Linked DNA regions of Homo sapiens: region 2 is linked to region 1. Evidence: promoter capture Hi-C in 16 types of primary human blood cells and fetal thymus (Javierre and others, 2016). All regions are on one chromosome and are shown on one strand. The core of a region is centred on a gene start or on the middle of the fragment in contact, and the rest is flanking DNA. Distances in the headings are between cores, read along the strand shown.

What was found. The method cuts DNA at HindIII sites, captures the fragments that hold promoters and counts their contacts. A CHiCAGO score of 5 or more calls a contact.
Region 2: a contact is called between a fragment that was not itself captured here and the fragment with the promoter of ERP44 in region 1, in 1 of 17 cell types (neutrophils). The highest score is 5.5, in neutrophils.

What each region holds. Positions count from the first base shown.
Region 1 is chr9:100,097,125-100,101,370 of GRCh38, forward strand. ERP44 (endoplasmic reticulum protein 44) reads right to left here and starts at 1,876. Exons shown (of 12, transcript NM_015051.3): 1 at 1,660-1,876. The coding sequence starts at 1,716. It overlaps INVS (inversin), which reads left to right and starts at 2,119. Exons shown (of 17, transcript NM_014425.5): 1 at 2,119-2,292. RefSeq lists enhancers at 1,723-1,792, 1,803-1,942 and a silencer at 2,183-2,392. The HindIII fragment of the contact is 16,824 bases long and covers 1-4,246 here.
Region 2 is chr9:101,401,691-101,405,936 of GRCh38, forward strand. The region is part of intron 2 of ZNF189 (zinc finger protein 189); the gene reads left to right. Among named protein-coding and RNA genes, the nearest start is that of ZNF189, 5.0 kb to the left of the region's middle. The HindIII fragment of the contact is 1,081 bases long and covers 1,851-2,931 here.

The DNA.
Region 1 (4,246 bases), core at 626-3,125:
TTATACAAAATGCTTAGATTTTAGTTAAATCTAGATTCTATTTGGGAAAAAACTCATATTTAACAAGATTAGGTTTTTCTATAAAAAGCATGAGTTATTCCAAAATAAATTATTTCTTCTTCATAACTTAGCTTTACAACCAAACCATACCATTTGAGGAAAGTGCATCTGATATAGTTTGCCTGTTCAGTGTCTCAACTTTTCTTTACAATATCTTAAGATTTTTGCCCTTTTTTTTTGATTTCCTAAAAGTGCACACAATTCATAACTCAAGCCATTTTGTGGATAAGATTAGTATCCAGTCTTCTTAAGGAGAGAGTGGTCTCTAATAATGGTATTATTCTAACACTTCTAGAAGGAAAAATGTATCACAGTGTATAATGAAATCACCAAGAAACAACACTATACAGAATATTTTCCTCGATACAGAAGTCATTCACTGTTGTATACTTATAAGAAGTGGCAATAAGACACTCTATCATTTAATATTACAATGTTTATACACAACTTTTTGTTCTCAAAAGTACTTTGACATGCCATTTAGTTTTTTACAGTGCTTTTTCCGAAAAGGTCCAAGTGACAAAAGAAAAGAAAGAACTATTTCAAACACAAATATTAAACATTTAATGGGATATGGCGGAATAAGCACTGGAAGTCAAGAGACTTGTTTCTAATCCCAGCTCTGCCTGTAACTAGCTGTGTGACTTCATATGCGTCACTAAATCGTTTCTTAAATTGTAAAGAAAGTAGTTCTTAATGTTTAAATCTGAATTTCTAAAAATCTACTACAATTAAGGTACTTTCAAATATTACATTATAATTAACAGCCCAATTAAATATAAGCCATTTTGCCATACGTGTTTAGTCCTTCGCTTTTGTCTCAATTTGACCTGAAGCCTGGATCAATTAGTCTGCACACTCAAGACGTACTCTGGGGCAAGAGGGACTAGGGAAAGATTCTTTTAAGATGGGATGATGCTGAGCAGGTTAGGCAGTTAGGAATGAATGCATATTCAAATAAGGCGCAATGAAGAAGAAATCTGCTTCCATGGGGAAATACGTTGCAATAAGATTTGAGGGAGGCCTTGAGCTGAGATTGTCAGGTAACCACACCTTCCACCCTTCAAACTCTATTCTCCCAGTGGAATCCAAACCAGTCTCCAGTTCCGGGTTCCCAACCAATCGCATCAAGCCACAACAGAGGGATCTGCCAACCCGGGCACCGCTTCAGGGATCTAGACCCAGTGAGAGTCACACAACCCCAGCACCTGTCGACCTCACACTCTTCCCAAATGGAGAGGGTGGGAAGGAACGCTAGGTCTATGCTTGGTCTTTTCCGATTCAAGCTACCACCAGGTCCACTAGCCCTCGAAACCGAAACCCCCGGACTTCGGGGAGAAGGGGAAGCTCCTACGCCGTGACTACGTATCAGTCCCTCAGGGCTAATTCTCCCATTCTCCCCCGACACTGGTTTCTCAGGCCTCGGGGACTCCGCGCCTGGAAGCCGACAGGCGAGAGTGAGGGCAGCGGGGGAGGGTGCACTCCAAAACACTGCAGGAAAAGACGGAAAAGCAGGGGCAGGAGTAGCAGTGTTCCCCCTGGGCGAGGGCCGGAGGCCGTTCGTGCGTTTGTCGATGGGTCTGTCATTCCCTCACTCACCAGGAGCAGAAGGGAGCATCTGAGGTCGGGTAAGGATAGGAAGACGGCAGGATGCATGGTAACGCTGGGGTCCGTGACAGGGACAGGCGCTGGCGGCTGGGACTGGGCTAGGTTGGGTTGGGTTAGGAAAGGGCTGGGCTCCGGGAGCCGACGGCAGCGGAGGATTCTCCAGGCAGCGGCACCTCGTCCTCTCGACCCGGGCTCCAGCGGCGAACACCCGGGACAACTTCCAGAGAGGCCTCTCACACCCTCACTTCCGGGTCCTGCCCACCTCGGTGCACTTCGGGAAATGTAGTCCTGCACTAGCCTCACCCCGCACGTCGTCCGTCATCTAGAACTTCCTTTCCCATTGGGCTCTCGGCCCCGGTCCACTGAGTCCTCTGCGCGCGGGGTCCTGTGGGATAGAAGGGCGGAGGGCGGGTGTACGCGGTGCTTCAGAGGATGGGAACTACAATTCCCAGAAGGATGTGCGGCCGAAAGCCTCGGGCGGCCTTTTGAGGGGCTCGGCTAGCTTCAGCGCCGTGGGGTCTGACCTGGCTGGATATAGTGTACCGGCCCGGCAGGAGGGGCGGCCCGGTCCGGGTTGCGCCTCCTGGAGCCGCCCCCGGGACGTCAGTCCTGGAGGAGGCGAGGGTGAGTAGGAGGGGGCCTGGCTGGGGAGGCTCAGATCATTCGGTCCGCACCGCCTTGGCCCCTGCTGCAGACTCACGGCCTTCCTGGCCTAGGCTGTGGCCTGAGCCTCCATCATTGGCCTCCTCGCCCGCTGCCTCTTCTTTCTGCTCTAATTCCTGCATTATAAAGTCAGAGCCACCACTCGGGGCCTCAGTTGAATGAGTCAATGACTTATCCCTGATTGTCTCTGAGGGCTCCTGTAAGGAGTAGATGTGGTACGGGATGGGATAGCACGTCGTAAACTGGAAAACTGTGTGAGTGATTGCTGCTAAGGCGTGGATCGCTCCTCCAGTATAATTACGAAATTCCCTAGCAAAGCAGTCGAGGATCCTAACTTGGCCCCAGGTAGCTCTGCGGCTTCTTCTGCAAACACTCAGTGAGGTCCAGGAGCCCACGCGATCTCTGCTTAGTACCCAGGAGGCACACTGTGCTTTTGTGGTTCTCCCTGCTCCCGCCTTTGCTTCAGCTTTCCTGCTGCCTGGAATGGCCTTACCCGTTCTCTCTCTGGAATGCTATCTTAAATGTCACCATCTCTGAGAACTTCCCGAACAACCAACCCTTTAGTCCTAATCAGAATTACTCTTCCTATGAGTGTGACTGCAGTACCTCTAGTTTTGTACGGTTATAATTATTAGAGCATTTATTACACGGGCTTGTTGTATAATTAGGCAAGGATGATGACACCTTTGCATTTTATAGCACTTTATCAAAGTGGTTTTGACTTTTTTCTATAAAAAATGATTTATTTTCTTAAAGGGGCAAAAAATACATTTTTTCTTAAGAAAAAAAAAGAGCCCTGCATAATGGCTTTCTCAGGGTGACAAAATTAGACAGTGATAGAGCCAATACTCTTACCAAGGCGGCCTAACTCCTAGACTAGTGCTCCTATCTCTTGTCCACGCCCCTGACAGAGCCCAAAGATAGTTGAAATGGGAAATTTTAAAAGAGCAGAGACTTGTAAGTATGAACTCATTATTCAAGAAATTAAACTTTGATCCTGCTCACTTTTTGGACTTAGCACTCAGCCTGTGACCTTTCATCCAACAAACATCTACTGAGTACTGGCTATATACCTGTTACTGTGCTAAGTGCTAAGAATTATGAAGTAAAAAGTATATATATATAATATATATAATATATGTACATATAATATATATAATATATGTATATATAATATATATATTATATATGTATATATAATATATATATTATATATGTACATATAATATATATATTATATATGTACATATAATATATATATTATATGTACATATAATATATATATTATATGTACATATAATATATATAATATATGTATATATAATATATATTATATATATAATATATGTATATATAATATATATAATATATGTATATATAATATATATATAATATATGTATATATAATATATATATTATATATGTATATATAATATATATTATATATGTATATATATTATATGTATATATATAATATATATAATATATATACATATATATTATATATATAATATATATTATATATATAATATATATGTATATATAATATATATATTATATGTATATATATTATATATATTATATATGTGTATATATAATTTATATATGTATAATATATACACACACACACATATATATAAAACAGAGATCACATTTTTAGTGTATTTTTCAAAGGGTATAAAGAACTTTTTTTGTGGTTCTGATGTGCCTAAAACTCTGATCACTTAGAATGAAAAATGACAGGTCTTAGAGTTTAGAACAGTGCCTAGCACATAGTTGTCACTCAGCTTGTTGAATGAACGAATGTGAACATGGTCTAACCTTATTATTTTTTGCATTTTACAGAAACCTAGAAAGCTGACATAGCCTGAGGACACACTGCTGATTATAAATACAACTGGGCCTAGAACCCAAG
Region 2 (4,246 bases), core at 1,141-3,640, 1.3 Mb after region 1:
TCTAATACTCCCTTTAAATTGTTTAACAGTGATCTGTAACACGTCATTGTCAAATGCAGTAGACTCTTTTGGGACCTTATTTTAGTCTACCTCTCTATGAATATGTGAAACTCTTTATTGTTTCCCTCCATTGGCTTGCATTCTCAGACTTCCCCTCAGTCTGTACTCTTTCCTTGGGGGACCTTACCTACACTCAGGTCATCAGCTACCGCTCTGTGAAAATAAGTCCCATTTTTTTTTTCAAGTCATAGCCTCATTCTGTTGCCCAGGCTGGAGTGCAGTGGTGCAATCTCAGCTCACTGCAGCCTCCACCTCCTGGGTTCAAGAGATTCTCCTGCCTCAGCCTCCTGAGTAGCCGAGACAAACAGGCATGCACCGCCACACCCAGCTAATTTTTGTATTTTTAGTAGAGAAGGGGTTTCACTGTGTTGGCCGGGCTGGTCTCGAACTCCCGATCTCAGGTGATCCGCCCACCTTGGCCTCCCAAAGTGCTGGGATTACAGGCGTGAGCCACCGTGCGTGGCCCAAATCTTTATTTCCACCTAAGAAAGGTAATGTGGAGCCTAACTGCCTAGGTTTAAATCCTTGTTCCACCACTTACTTAGCCTGGTGAGTATAGTGATTTAATCTCTCTTTGCCTCAATTTATTTTTTTATAAAATGGAAATAATAATAGCACCTACCTCATAGGGTTATTGTGAGCATTGACTGAATTAATGTATGTAAAACACTTGACACACTAACATGTAGTTAAGAACAATATAAATGTTGACTTATATTGTTGTCATCATCTTCTCTGTTGAGTTTCCAATTCCTAGTCATCTTTTGAAGACCACATGAGTAATTCAAACCTGGCAAGTTTCAATCCATTAAAATCAAGGGCCTTCTCTTTCTTTGTTTTACCAGAGCTAAGCACTCCTTTCTTTGTTTTACCTTGTATATACTCCTGCTATTGAATTTATCATACTATACTACAATCATTCTATATATGTTACTTTTCTAACCTCACTGATTACTGTGAGGATGGTAGATATACCTGTTGCATTTGATTTCTCCAGCACTTAGCACAGAGCCAGGCCTATATTATATGCTTCTTAAATATTTATATGACTGAGTAAGTACAGTTAACTTAAGACTCAGTATCTCTTAACTGGATTATTACATTAACCCCTAAACTACCCCCTTGCCACTAGTCTCCTTTTTTAAAATATATTCTCTCTACTGCCACCAAAGTGATTTTGTATTAGTTAACTGTGTAAAACTTCTGATGGTTCCTGATAGCTTAAATGATAAAAATCTTAATTTCTTATCATATAGGACCTTCCAAGTATAGCCTCTGCCTATCTTTCTTGCCTCACCTGTTTTTTCCTGCACACCACTTTAGTCTTCAGCCATATCAGCTGCTGATATGTGTGTGTGTGTGTGTGTGTGTGTGTTTTAATATACCATGTTGTCTCTCAGTCACTGCCAGCTTATCCATACATATGGTATTCTGGTTGATAGAACCAAGTAAGTGCCTGGCCCTGCCTTCTCCTAGAACTGCAGCATGTAAATACCATATGGACAAGGTGTGACAGTGTGCCCACAGATGATCTTCTACTTGTAGGCTGTCTTCTTTATTTCAGCTTAAATACAGCTTTCCATATTCATCATTTCTCCTCCCACAGTCTTTTCATCCTCCTCAATAAACACTATCTCCATCCCTTTGGTGAGAGCTCCCTTGATGAGAGATCACTATTACTCTACTGTTGCAATGCAGTATTCTCTTCTACATCATCTTAACTGCTTTTCATAATGCAACTCTTGTCTAGCTTTATAGTTTTGGCTTTTCATTCATACTTTTCCTTTTCAAGCTTATTTTTAAAAAAACTTTAATAGCTACATCGATGATACAGTTGATAGCTTAATTTCTCAGATCTTTGACATCTTCAATTTTAATGACTCTTTCCGCAATGACTTGCAGATTGCCACCTTATTACTGTGTCTTCACATGGCAGAAGGGGAGAGAGATAGAGCAAACGTTCTGGTCTTTGTTCCTCTTTTTATAAGAACACTAATCCCATCATGGGGGCCCAACCTTCATGACCTCATCTAAATTTAATTACTTCCCAAAGGCCCCGCCTCCAAATATCATCACATTGTGGATTAGGGCTTCACCATATGAATATTTGGTGGGAACACAAACATTCAGTCTATAACACTGTCTTATCTCTTTTTTCTCCTTGACGGTTTAGTCTTTTCTCCTTATGTTCACATTCTTCTGTCCTTTTGGCTTCTGGTTTGATAGGTTACAATTCTAGCTACCTTCCGAATAACTAGCGATTTCAGTTTTAATTCCAGGTTCTTTGGCGAAACCCACTTTGAGACAACTATCTGTGTAGAAAAATTGGCCATGACCACAGGATGGGAAGATATTGCATAAGCATTGCCAAGCCCAGATCTAATGGATAGTCACTTCAAGGCTGCTCTGTGTGGAAGCCTTACTCTTGTTTTTTTCACCTGCCTATCCTGTTGACCTATTTATTTTTATGTGAATGTCATTGTTTTATTCGCTTTAACAATATATTACATTTTGTGTCTGGTAATATAAGTCATTCTTTAATAATCTTTTTCAGGATGTACTTCACTAGTCTGCCTTCTTCTAAACTTTAGATTTATTTACTTTTTTATTGGTTCATGTGATTTTTGATTGGAATGATTAGTTTCATAGATTGAAAGGAATTGAGATCCTTATAATATTGAATCTCTTTAGCCATTTGGTTGACTCTGTTTAACTGTATCCTTTTGTCTTTCAGAAAAATTGTATGGAATATTTTTATGGATCTTACACATTTCTTATGTTTATTCCTAGGTTTTATGTTTTTTGTTACTATTGTGAAGCATTTATATCATTTCTGTATAATATTTACTAACTTTTTTTGTACTAAGAACAAGCTTTTTAATCTTGTTATGATTATATTTTCATTTGCTTCTTCCAGGAATTTTAGGTATATATTCATATCATCTTCAAGTAATGATCATTTTGTCTTATTCATTTGAATGAAATTGACAGAACAGTATCCACTAATCCAACTAACATAACTGAACAAATATTCTGAAGAGACTGCCTTCTCACAAAGAATTTACAATCTAGTGGAAGAGACAAATAACGAACAGTTAAAAAATGCAGTGTAATCATAGCAATAATAGAATTATGGTCGAGGGCTGGTAATAAAAAAATAGAACACCTGAATCTGTCTAGTGGACTTAGTAAAGGCTTTGTAGAGGAACTGTTGCTTTAAACTTAAAGATTGCTTTGAATCTTAAAACCAAAAGTTTGCCAGGTAAACAGTGTTGAGGGACATTTAGTAAATGAGATATGTGAAGATAAGACATGAAAGACTGTAACACAAACAATTTGCCTACATAAAGTATGATAAAGTAGGTAGGAACATGACTTGAGGCTTAGAGACTGTGTCATGAAGAGTTGTATCATAGCAAAGAGCTTGATTCGATCTTAAAGGTGATGGGGAGCTGCTAAATCTACAGGTGATGACTTGAGTAGAATTCTGTTTTATAGAGATCTCTTCTAGAATCAGTAAGGCATATATAATGTGTTGGCAGCCTAAAGACTGGAGCCAAAGATTATAAGGCAGCTACATGATTGTGAGGGATGAAAGATAGGTGCTAGAGAGAAATCCAGGATTTGGATGATTGATTAACGTGAGAAGAAGGGAGAAATACAGGATGATTGCTGCTTTGAGACTATAGGGTAATGGATGATGGTGCCTTTCAAGAGATAATTAAAGGTGGGGAAAGGCATGAAAGCAGATGATGATGACCATGTTAATTGTGAGCCCTTTGTGAGGCATTTAACTGGAGATATCTGGAGGGTGTATATACAGAACAAGTAAGGATGTAAATGTGGGTAACAATAACAAAAGTCAGTTGACAAAGGAAAAGAAATAAATGAGGGAAATTTATCAGAAAAGGCCAAAGAAGTAGGGAAGGAAATAAAAGAATGTGGTAGTGTAGAAACCAAAAACAGATAATGTCAAGAAATAGGGGTGGTCAACAGTGTTAGATGCTGCTGAATAACATAAGGACTGAAACATGCCCATTTTAGGCCAGGCACGGTGGCTCACTTCTGTAATCCCAGCACTTTGGGAAGCTGAGGTGGGTGGATCACCTGAGGTCAGAGTTCGAGACCAACATGGTGCCCCATCTCTACTAAAAATGCAAAAAAATTAGCTAGGCACAGTGGCGGG